Linked DNA regions of Homo sapiens: regions 2 and 3 are each linked to region 1. Evidence: promoter capture Hi-C in 16 types of primary human blood cells and fetal thymus (Javierre and others, 2016). All regions are on one chromosome and are shown on one strand. Each heading gives the region's core, a stretch centred on a gene start or on the middle of the fragment in contact. The rest is flanking DNA. Distances are from core to core; before and after follow the strand shown.

Region 1 (2,772 bases), core at 115-2,614:
AGAAACCCTTTCCATCCACTGCCCCCCCAAATCTCAACATTTCATCTTCCTGTTTCCCTTCCTACGTTACAAGTGCCAAGGTAACAATGTTTTGAACTAACGTCATACCCCCACTTCCGACAAAGTTTTTTCAGCTGCTACACCACGTGCGTTCCCACAGTCCGGGAAGAGGGAAGCGTGTAGCCATTGGTGGACACTGAATGGCTGTTTGCAGCCGTGGGCACAGAGAGGGGGAGGAAGACGTGGGACTAAGACCCAAGTTTCCCGGAGACGATTGCAACATCTCTTTGCTGGCATGTGGCCAACAGGAGCATGGCGTCTTTCCCATGCCCATGTGGGAAGGGCGTCAGGGACAGACACCTGACCCTTCCTGGCAAGAAGCTTTTCTATCTTTCCCTCCCCGTCTCCTTCTAGCGCCCTCCTCTTCCCCAAAGGAAATGCTCTCCTTTCCCAGATCCCAAGCAAGGACCCCAAAGCGCCAGGCCCACGTGTCGGTCCTTCCCCTACATCCATCCCTACCCAAGGTCCCCTCTCCCAGACTGCCTCTCCTTTCTTCTCCAAACGCAGGCATTTTCCACCACGCGAATCCGCAACAGTGCCCGTCTGGGAGACAGAAGTTAAGACCTAAACTTTCTGGCCCGGAACCAGAAGGGAGATGCACACGGCCGCCAGGAGCGCAGGGCGCAGCGCGCTCACCTGGGAGCGCCGGCAAGGGAGGCGGCCAGCGCTGGGGACCCGGAGACCCCTGGGGACCCGGAGATCCCTGGGGACCCTGTGCTGTCAGCGTCTCCAGCCCGGGTGGGAGATGTAGCGCGAGCTGCCCACACGTGCTCCGCGGCCGGCTGGGCCCGCCCCACTACGGCAGCCCCTGCCCTCCCTGGCCTGACTCACCGAGAACTTTTTTCTCCGCGTCTTCGCTGCCGGCGGCGGTGGCTAAAGAGGCGGCGGCCGCGGTGCCCGTGGCTGCGGGGGCCGCGTCCCCACCGGGGTTTCCTGCGACGTGGGCGGCGGGCGCCGGGGCCGCGGCCTGGGGCGCACCGCTGCCCACCGGGCTCTTGGGCGCGGGGTCCTGGGGAGCCGCGGCGGCCGCCTCCGTCGGAGCCTGCGGGAGGGTGGTGGTGGTGGTGGTGGTGGCCTCGCCCGCCTCACTCATGCCTCCTCCTCCTCTGCTCTCGCTCAGGCGCCTCGGTGGCGGTTGGTCGGCGGTTAGCGCGGCTGGTGGTCGCGGCGGCCGGGGCTCGCTCTCGGGGAGGCCGGGGCGGATCTCGCGGCGCAGGCGGCGGCGGCCGAGGTGGGGTCGCGCGGCGGAGGCGGCTCGAGCTTCGTGCTGCGCGCTCTCTCTTGGGCTCCTCGCTCGATCTTACTGCCCCAAAAATGGCCCCGCACAAGTTTTTCTAGGCGGCGCACCGGCCCGGGAGGGAAGGGCGGGCGAGGGGAGAGGGTGGGGAAACTTGGCTCGGGAGTCGGGCCCTGGACTCTCATTAGCATTTAAAGGCGCCCGGTGCGCTTTCTATGGCTCCAATCCGCCGGGACGCGAGCGCGCGGGTCGCGTTGCAGAACCAAGGAAAGCCAGGGTGAACGGGGCGCCCGGGTTGTCTTCTGGAGCGTTCCGAGGAGCCCGCGCTGCTGACCCTTTGTTGGAGCGGGGTGCATTGGCTCTCCTCCCTCAACCCGTCTTGACACCCGCAGCTGACAAGGAGAGGTAAAATAGGGCACCCAAACTACTCTGCGCTTTACCCTCTCAAACACTTGTTTTTAAATCCTTTGCATCTAGTCAGTCATTCAACATGTATCAAGCACCAGCAGCTATTCGTAGCACAGCTGTTAAGACCTGGAATAATAAAACCTTAAGACTATTTGGCAACTTACTCCTGAAAGGTAATATACGGATAATTTCATCTGTAACACGCAGATGAGGAAATTGACCTCACAGATTTAATGTAAATTCAGAGTTTACACCAATTTAACCGCAACAAATAAGGAGCTGTCAATATATATTTAATAAGGAACACACACAAAAAAAGCTGAATAAATCCACTTCCTACCTTCTGCTCCAGTTGCCTCTGCCAGCTGGTGAAAGCTTAAGGAACTGAGCCCTCTTAGCCTCGAGGATGAGAGGTATAGAGAAACAGATCACCCAATAAACATTATTCCCAAGTTGAAGAGCCCACATGCCCTTTGAGAATGGGCTGGATGGTAGTAAACACAGGGCCAGAGGGTCTGGGATCTGTACCCAAAGACTGTCTGGAATACAGGACTATTTGGCCCCTAGGGTTCAGACAGACTAGGTATAAATTCTGGCTTTGTTTTTTATTAACCAGGTTAACTTGGGACAGAGATTCAATGTCCCAGAGTCGGTTTCCTGCTTTATGAGAGGTTCTCAAAGGTGACATGAAAAGTAGATGAGATTATCATGTGTCACTCCAGTGTCCGGTCCACCTAAAGCTCCTTTGTTTTGTTTGTTTTTTAAGTTATTGCCTGTTCCCTCAAACAATTTACCAAATTTTTTTCCAGGAATATGTCTGTAATGTCGATGTCTACCTTAACATCAGTAGGGTAACTATCAAGTGTAATTCATCTTTGTATCTCCACTGGTTAGTACAGTACGTAGCACAGAGTTTGGACATAGTGAATGTTTACAAAATGAAAACAGACCAAATTCTTCCAAACTCAATTACTTATCTGCACATTTGCTATCAATTATTATGAAACTTTCCTGAATTCTTACTTTCTTATTTCATCCACAAAAAACACAAAGAAAATAAGTTATTT
Region 2 (2,772 bases), core at 273-2,772, 1.6 Mb after region 1:
TAAGAACATTGAGAATAGGTGAGGAAGGAGGAAGGCTAGTAAGGAGCAGATTATAGGAAGAGGTTATCGGGGATTTGGTTAAGGAAGGTAGAGATGAGATCATGGCTCACTCCAGCCTCCACCTCCTGGGCTCAAGCGATCCACCCATCTCAGCTTCCAGAGTAGCTGGGACTACAGTGTGCACCACCACACCCGGCTAATTAAAATACATTTTTTTTTTTTTTTGTAGAGACAGGGTTTCACTATGTTGCCCATGTTGGTCTTGAGCTCCTGGACTCCAGTGCTCCTCCCACCTTAGCCTCCCAAAGTGCTGAGACTACAGGCATGAGCCACCATGCCCGGCCCGAGTTTCAAAAAATACTATAGAAAATAGTTTGTATAATTCATCCCCCCCACCCCAACCCCCACTTGATGAGAGTGGCGTGAATCTAGAAATGACAACATGTGGCTGTGGCCAGACTATAGCAAACAAAAAGCCAGTGAGCATTGAAGGTGATGCTCATGTTTCACTTGTGAAGACGAAACATCTTGGGCCGTGATTAGGAAAGATAGGCAAAGGGGGTGGAAATGATAAGTTTAATTATGATAATAGTATCTTATCCCCCATGCTTCTACATAATAGCTATTGTTCTTTCTGTTTTTATAGATTAAAATATTGAGGCCTAGAGAGCTTAAATTAATTGCCTAAAGTCACATGGCTGTAAGTGATAGCACATTTTAAGATTGCATCAGGACATAGAATAAGACTTAGTTTCCAATTCTAGCAAAGCCCATTATAGAAATCACTAGGATATACAGGAACTAGCGTGGTGGGTATGAGGTTGTTTGGGTTTTGAGGTGCAGCATTTGTTGCAGAGCCTCCTGCTTTGACGTTGTTCTGCCTGATAATTAAAAGCCCTACCCTCTGCCTGCTGGGCTGCTGCAGGGGCCAGGCATCACTGTCGCCTTTATACTCTGACTCTTTTTTCCCCCTTTCCTGCTTTCAGGATGAGGCCATTCCTCAAAATAGTAAAAAGGCCACACAGTGAAGCCTGTACCCCCCAGGTTTGATTTCAGAAAGCTTTTATTCAACTTAATGACAGTTTATTCTTTCAAAACAATATATTGAAGTATTACACAGAGTTCACTATTGTTTCATAATGTCATATGATGTAATGCTAATGCTGGTGGGTGATCTGCAGAGGCAGTGGCTGGGCGAGTTTGGGGCTATTTGTATGACTGAGGTAATGTTTGCATTTTTAATAAGCAAGCAGATTCTTTCTTTGGCCTTAACCCTTTTGCATAAATATACCAGAGTATAATTTATGCTCCATAATCCAAATATCTGTTCCTTTTTTTATCAAAGGGATTTCTGTTTTTCATAGCAATGTCTGAATTAGTAATTTATTTTGACATGTAAAGCATTTTATAGGAAATGAAAGATTAGAAAATTAGAAAGTAGCTACAAATGGCTGTGACAGAACACAAAGGCAAAATAGTAGATTTGATGTAAGTTAGCAAGATTCCAAGAAGTTAACAAACCCTGTATAGATTTCTTACTTGAAATTCAACCACTCATATTTTTTAATGAATCCCACTCTATTGTATGTCATTCTAAAGAAATGAAATATTTGCAAGAGAAAAGTAATATGGTTGGTGTTTTATATATAAAGTTACAAAAATAATTATTCACTCTTAGTAGATGAATATGTGCATATTTACACACATGCATGCATGTGACATTCTTTCCAACCGATCTGTCATTTTTGTTACTGACCTTGGATACAACGTAAGAGATTGTATTGCTGCCTATGGAAGGGGCTGTTTTTGTTAATAACAAGGATGATCAAACATATACAGTGTAGATACTGAAGTGATACTAAGCAGCTTTGTTGGGAGTTTGGTGTTTGGTTGTTAAGAACATGATGCATGTGAAGTAGATTTTGATAATTAAAAGGAGCCTGGGGCTTTTCATAGTGGAGCGAAATCTCATGGAACAGCAGTGAAAGCTTTCAAATCACATGGAACATTGAGAACTGGAACCTGAAAGTGTAGCTAGGGAAGAATGAAGCAATGGAAAAAGGGCGATAAGGAGAGCATGATGGAGCTAGATTTCAAATGACCAGTTTCTTCACATTCTTCTGTCATCTGGACAAATAAAAGTCTTTGCATTCATCAGATGTCTGCCTCTACCAGCTGTCAGACCTTATCATTGCATTGGAAAATGGCAGCCAAAGGAGGGGACAAGAGAATGGATCTTAATCAGAGCCACAGTCTTCTCTGAATGGCTTAAAGGTAATCTCTAAACCCAGGGGTAATCCTAAGTATATTTTCTCCCAAATACCATATTGGAAAGATTGATGACTTATTCCTGATTACTTTATGGGTTTGTATTTGTAATAGCTCTTCAGTTAAGCTTTTAAACATGGCTATTCAGAGAAGTGTGAGTTGTGTGTAAAAACAAAAACAAAAATAAACATAGCTGTTTACCAGCATTGGGTTAGCCTTACTCAGAAGAGTGGGAAGTACCAGGTGAATGGTTGCTTTCAACCGATTGAGAAAGTGAAGCTGTCTCACCAGAACACCCTCATCTTTTCCCTTACTCCCATAAATCTCTGTGTGCCTGCATCCATTCTTGTTTCTTTCCATTAAGTCTCAGATGAGGTATTCATGCCTTTCTCTGAAACTTAATGCCATTCTGTTTCACTCTTTCCATTTGCTGGGACTTTGCTCCTGTCCTTTTCTCTTTTTGTCTCGCAACTAGCTTAGTGGACCTCTTTCCTCTTGTTCAGA
Region 3 (2,772 bases), core at 91-2,590, 1.6 Mb after region 1:
ATTATCCTCATTTTAGTTAAAACTTACAAAAAGTTGTGGGACATAATATGTGCTTCTTTATTAACCTATTAAGTAACAAGTGGTCATCTAATAACTGCCATAATTTTGACGTGGTATTGAGTATAGATAATATTTTGAAACGTGCAACAAGTCATGTGATATAAAGATATCGGCAATATTTACAGGGGGCAAATCATAGCTACTGCTAATACTACTGTGGCTTTTGCCTACATTCCATTTCAGAAGTCGGTGAAATAATAATTTTTTCCACTCAAGTTCACAGACATCCTGAATTCTATCCATGGATACCTTATCGTGGACTCCCCAGGTTAATAATTCTGGCCAAGGTACTTAATACGCTGCCATATTTTGCAAGCCTCTAGGGAATCAAGAGAAAACCAGGCCAATACTTTATTTTGAATGGATTCTAATGTAGCCTCTTTTCAAGCTTTTGCAAAGAAACCTGAACTATGTAAGGAGATGGGGCAGGAGTTGTTTTCAGTATGCAGCATTGAGAGAAGTGTTTAAGAGTTTTATATCATTAAAGAGGCTCAGCAATATTAGGTTAGCGACGTTTTCTAATCCATTATTATTTAGGCTTTAAGGGCCTGAAGTCGAGTTGAATCTTGTTGAAAGACGGGGTAAAAGGATACAGGCGGGTGAGAGAGGATGCCCCTGAGTTTTAACGTCTGCATACAAGAGTCGCTAAAACTTACTCGCACGTAATTAGTTCAAATATTGGAAATCGTCTTACAGCACACTATAATTTACCAAGATGCTTATAACTGTATACACACACACACTCTACAGAGAATTAGACAATTAGCAGTTTCAATAATGAATACAGAGTCAACGACAAGAAAACAGGGAACATTTTCTCTTCCTTTGAGGAAATGCATGTTGCCTACTGAGCTATTCTTCTGCCTCTCCTTCTGATGTCAACGCAGAGCCAGAGCCATTTATGGCAGGTGCCTTGAGCCCGCCTAGAGGTCCCCTTTGGAATACTGCAGCGACTCAAGGATCCTGGTCAGCCCTTATTGGCCCCAGCTGGTCCTTTGGATGCTCGGGTGTGGGTGAAGGAGCCTCGGCCCCTGGAAAGGAGGGGACCGACTCTCTCCGCAGGTAGCGACGTCGCCTGCGGCCGGTCGGGGGTGGGTATTGGGGAGACCCCTTTACCTGGCGTCGAGAGGACCCCGGCGCCCCTGCTGCCATCCAGGTGCGAGGACAGCTCTGTCGCGCCCGCGGGAAGGACCGGCGAATCCGCGCGGGGGTCTCGGCGAGGACCGCAGCGGATGCTCCGCAGCTCCCGCACCGGCCTGGCGGGTTTTGTGGTTAGCAAGTTCCTGCTTCCGTCGCAGCGACGGCAAGTTTGCCGCGGGGGAAGGGCACGTTCCTGCCCTGCAACCCGGAGCTGCTTCCCGGCAACATTAGCGCGTCCCTCCCCGCGGAGGCTCCGGGCTCCCGGCCCCAGCGCTGAGCCCCGCAGGGAGGTGGCTCCCCCCACCGCCCCGCGCTCCCCCCCAGCTCAGCCACACCGCTGACCCCGGGCTGGGCGCGCTGCGAGGGGGAGTGCGTGCCTCCCTGCTGGTGGCCCGAGGGTCTGCAGGTGAGCCTTGCCTCGCGGCCCGCGCAAGTTAAAATAAATGCACATGGGGAAAATGTCAAACAGTACAAAAATAGACACAGAGACAAGTCTACCCCTCACCCCCGTGCCCCAGTCTCCTAGTCTCCCTCCTCAGAGGCAACCACTGAGAGCAGTTTTTTGATGTTCAAGGGCTTATAGTGCATCCTATTGGGGGCATAGTTCTGAGAATCCTCTTTCCATAATTGGAGGATGGAGTCCTCAATTAAAGATGGCAATTCTTGAGTTAAATATTATCTGCAAGACAAACTTCAGGGAAGGTATTTGGCTTTCTGCGGGATTTATTGTTTGTAGATAGGATAATAATGGTGAAAATGCTGGTGTCTGTAACATATATTAAAACTGTATCCCTAACACTTAGCATAGTGCCTGGTACACAATAGGTGCTCAGTAAATATTTAACTAAAATATTTTTGTTGACTGAATGAATGGAAAAGAACTGCATAGGGCATAGGTTGTGGAAGTTTCTAAATTACTGCTGGCCCCATCCCCACCTCCATAAACACACACACAAATGCAACGTTACTAAACCATTGACACTTAGTTTGCCATATGGTCTAACCTTTGACAGTATCTTCACCTCTGTTTTGAAAGAGCTTGCAGACCTGAAGCGCTATGCAATTGCAAGTTAAGTCTAGGCCTGTACGGCCAACAGCTACACACCCTAGTCTTAACCAATAACTACAGGAGGATTAGGTTGACTGAGAATGCTTGTGAACAAAGGTCCATTGTGTGAAACTAACTCTACTTGTAACCAAAGGATGACTCTTGAATTACAATGTTGCTAAAGCTAGGTTTGAAAGAGTTACCAAAGAAAAGTAAACACCAGAGTAATTTCCCATTGCAGTGATTTTCCTGATGCAACAAGGGACTGATCTGCAAGTGTGTTTTATCTTTTATCATCTGATACACTTCAGGGTTCAGGGTGTAGAGCTATCACAGTTTTTGAATCTCTCTACATGGGGTAATCCATGCTAGTTACAAAGTAGACCTTTCCATTATTAGAAACTTCGTATTCGGTGCTTTAATACAATGAACCTGTTTCTTTTTTTGTTTTGTTTTGTGTTTTGTTTGTTTTTAGAGACGGAGTCTCGCTGTGTTGCCCAGGCTGGAGTGCAGTGGTGTGATCT

What was found. Contacts are between HindIII fragments. The CHiCAGO score rates a contact against its expected background, and 5 or more counts as called.
Region 2: a fragment that was not itself captured here is called in contact with the fragment with the promoter of YBX3 in region 1 in 1 of 17 cell types (M2 macrophages); the score reaches 5.9 in M2 macrophages.
Region 3: a contact is called between the fragment with the promoter of MANSC1 here and the fragment with the promoter of YBX3 in region 1, in 1 of 17 cell types (M2 macrophages). The highest score is 6.1, in M2 macrophages.

What each region holds. Positions count from the first base shown.
Region 1 is chr12:10,721,959-10,724,730 of GRCh38, forward strand. YBX3 (Y-box binding protein 3) reads right to left here and starts at 1,365. Exons shown (of 10, transcript NM_003651.5): 1 at 892-1,365. The coding sequence starts at 1,153. It overlaps LOC124902876, which reads left to right and starts at 1,094. Exons shown (of 2, transcript XM_047429946.1): 1 at 1,094-1,702. The coding sequence starts at 1,152. RefSeq lists silencers at 611-1,010, 1,141-1,240, 1,261-1,480. The HindIII fragment of the contact is 1,699 bases long and covers 380-2,078 here.
Region 2 is chr12:12,365,136-12,367,907 of GRCh38, forward strand. All of the region lies in intron 2 of BORCS5 (BLOC-1 related complex subunit 5), which reads left to right. Among named protein-coding and RNA genes, the nearest start is that of BORCS5, 9.4 kb to the left of the region's middle. The HindIII fragment of the contact is 928 bases long and covers 1,059-1,986 here.
Region 3 is chr12:12,348,902-12,351,673 of GRCh38, forward strand. It overlaps MANSC1 (MANSC domain containing 1), which reads right to left and starts at 1,341. Exons shown (of 4, transcript NM_018050.4): 1 at 1,177-1,341. RefSeq lists a silencer at 1,342-1,651. The HindIII fragment of the contact is 5,175 bases long and covers 447-2,772 here.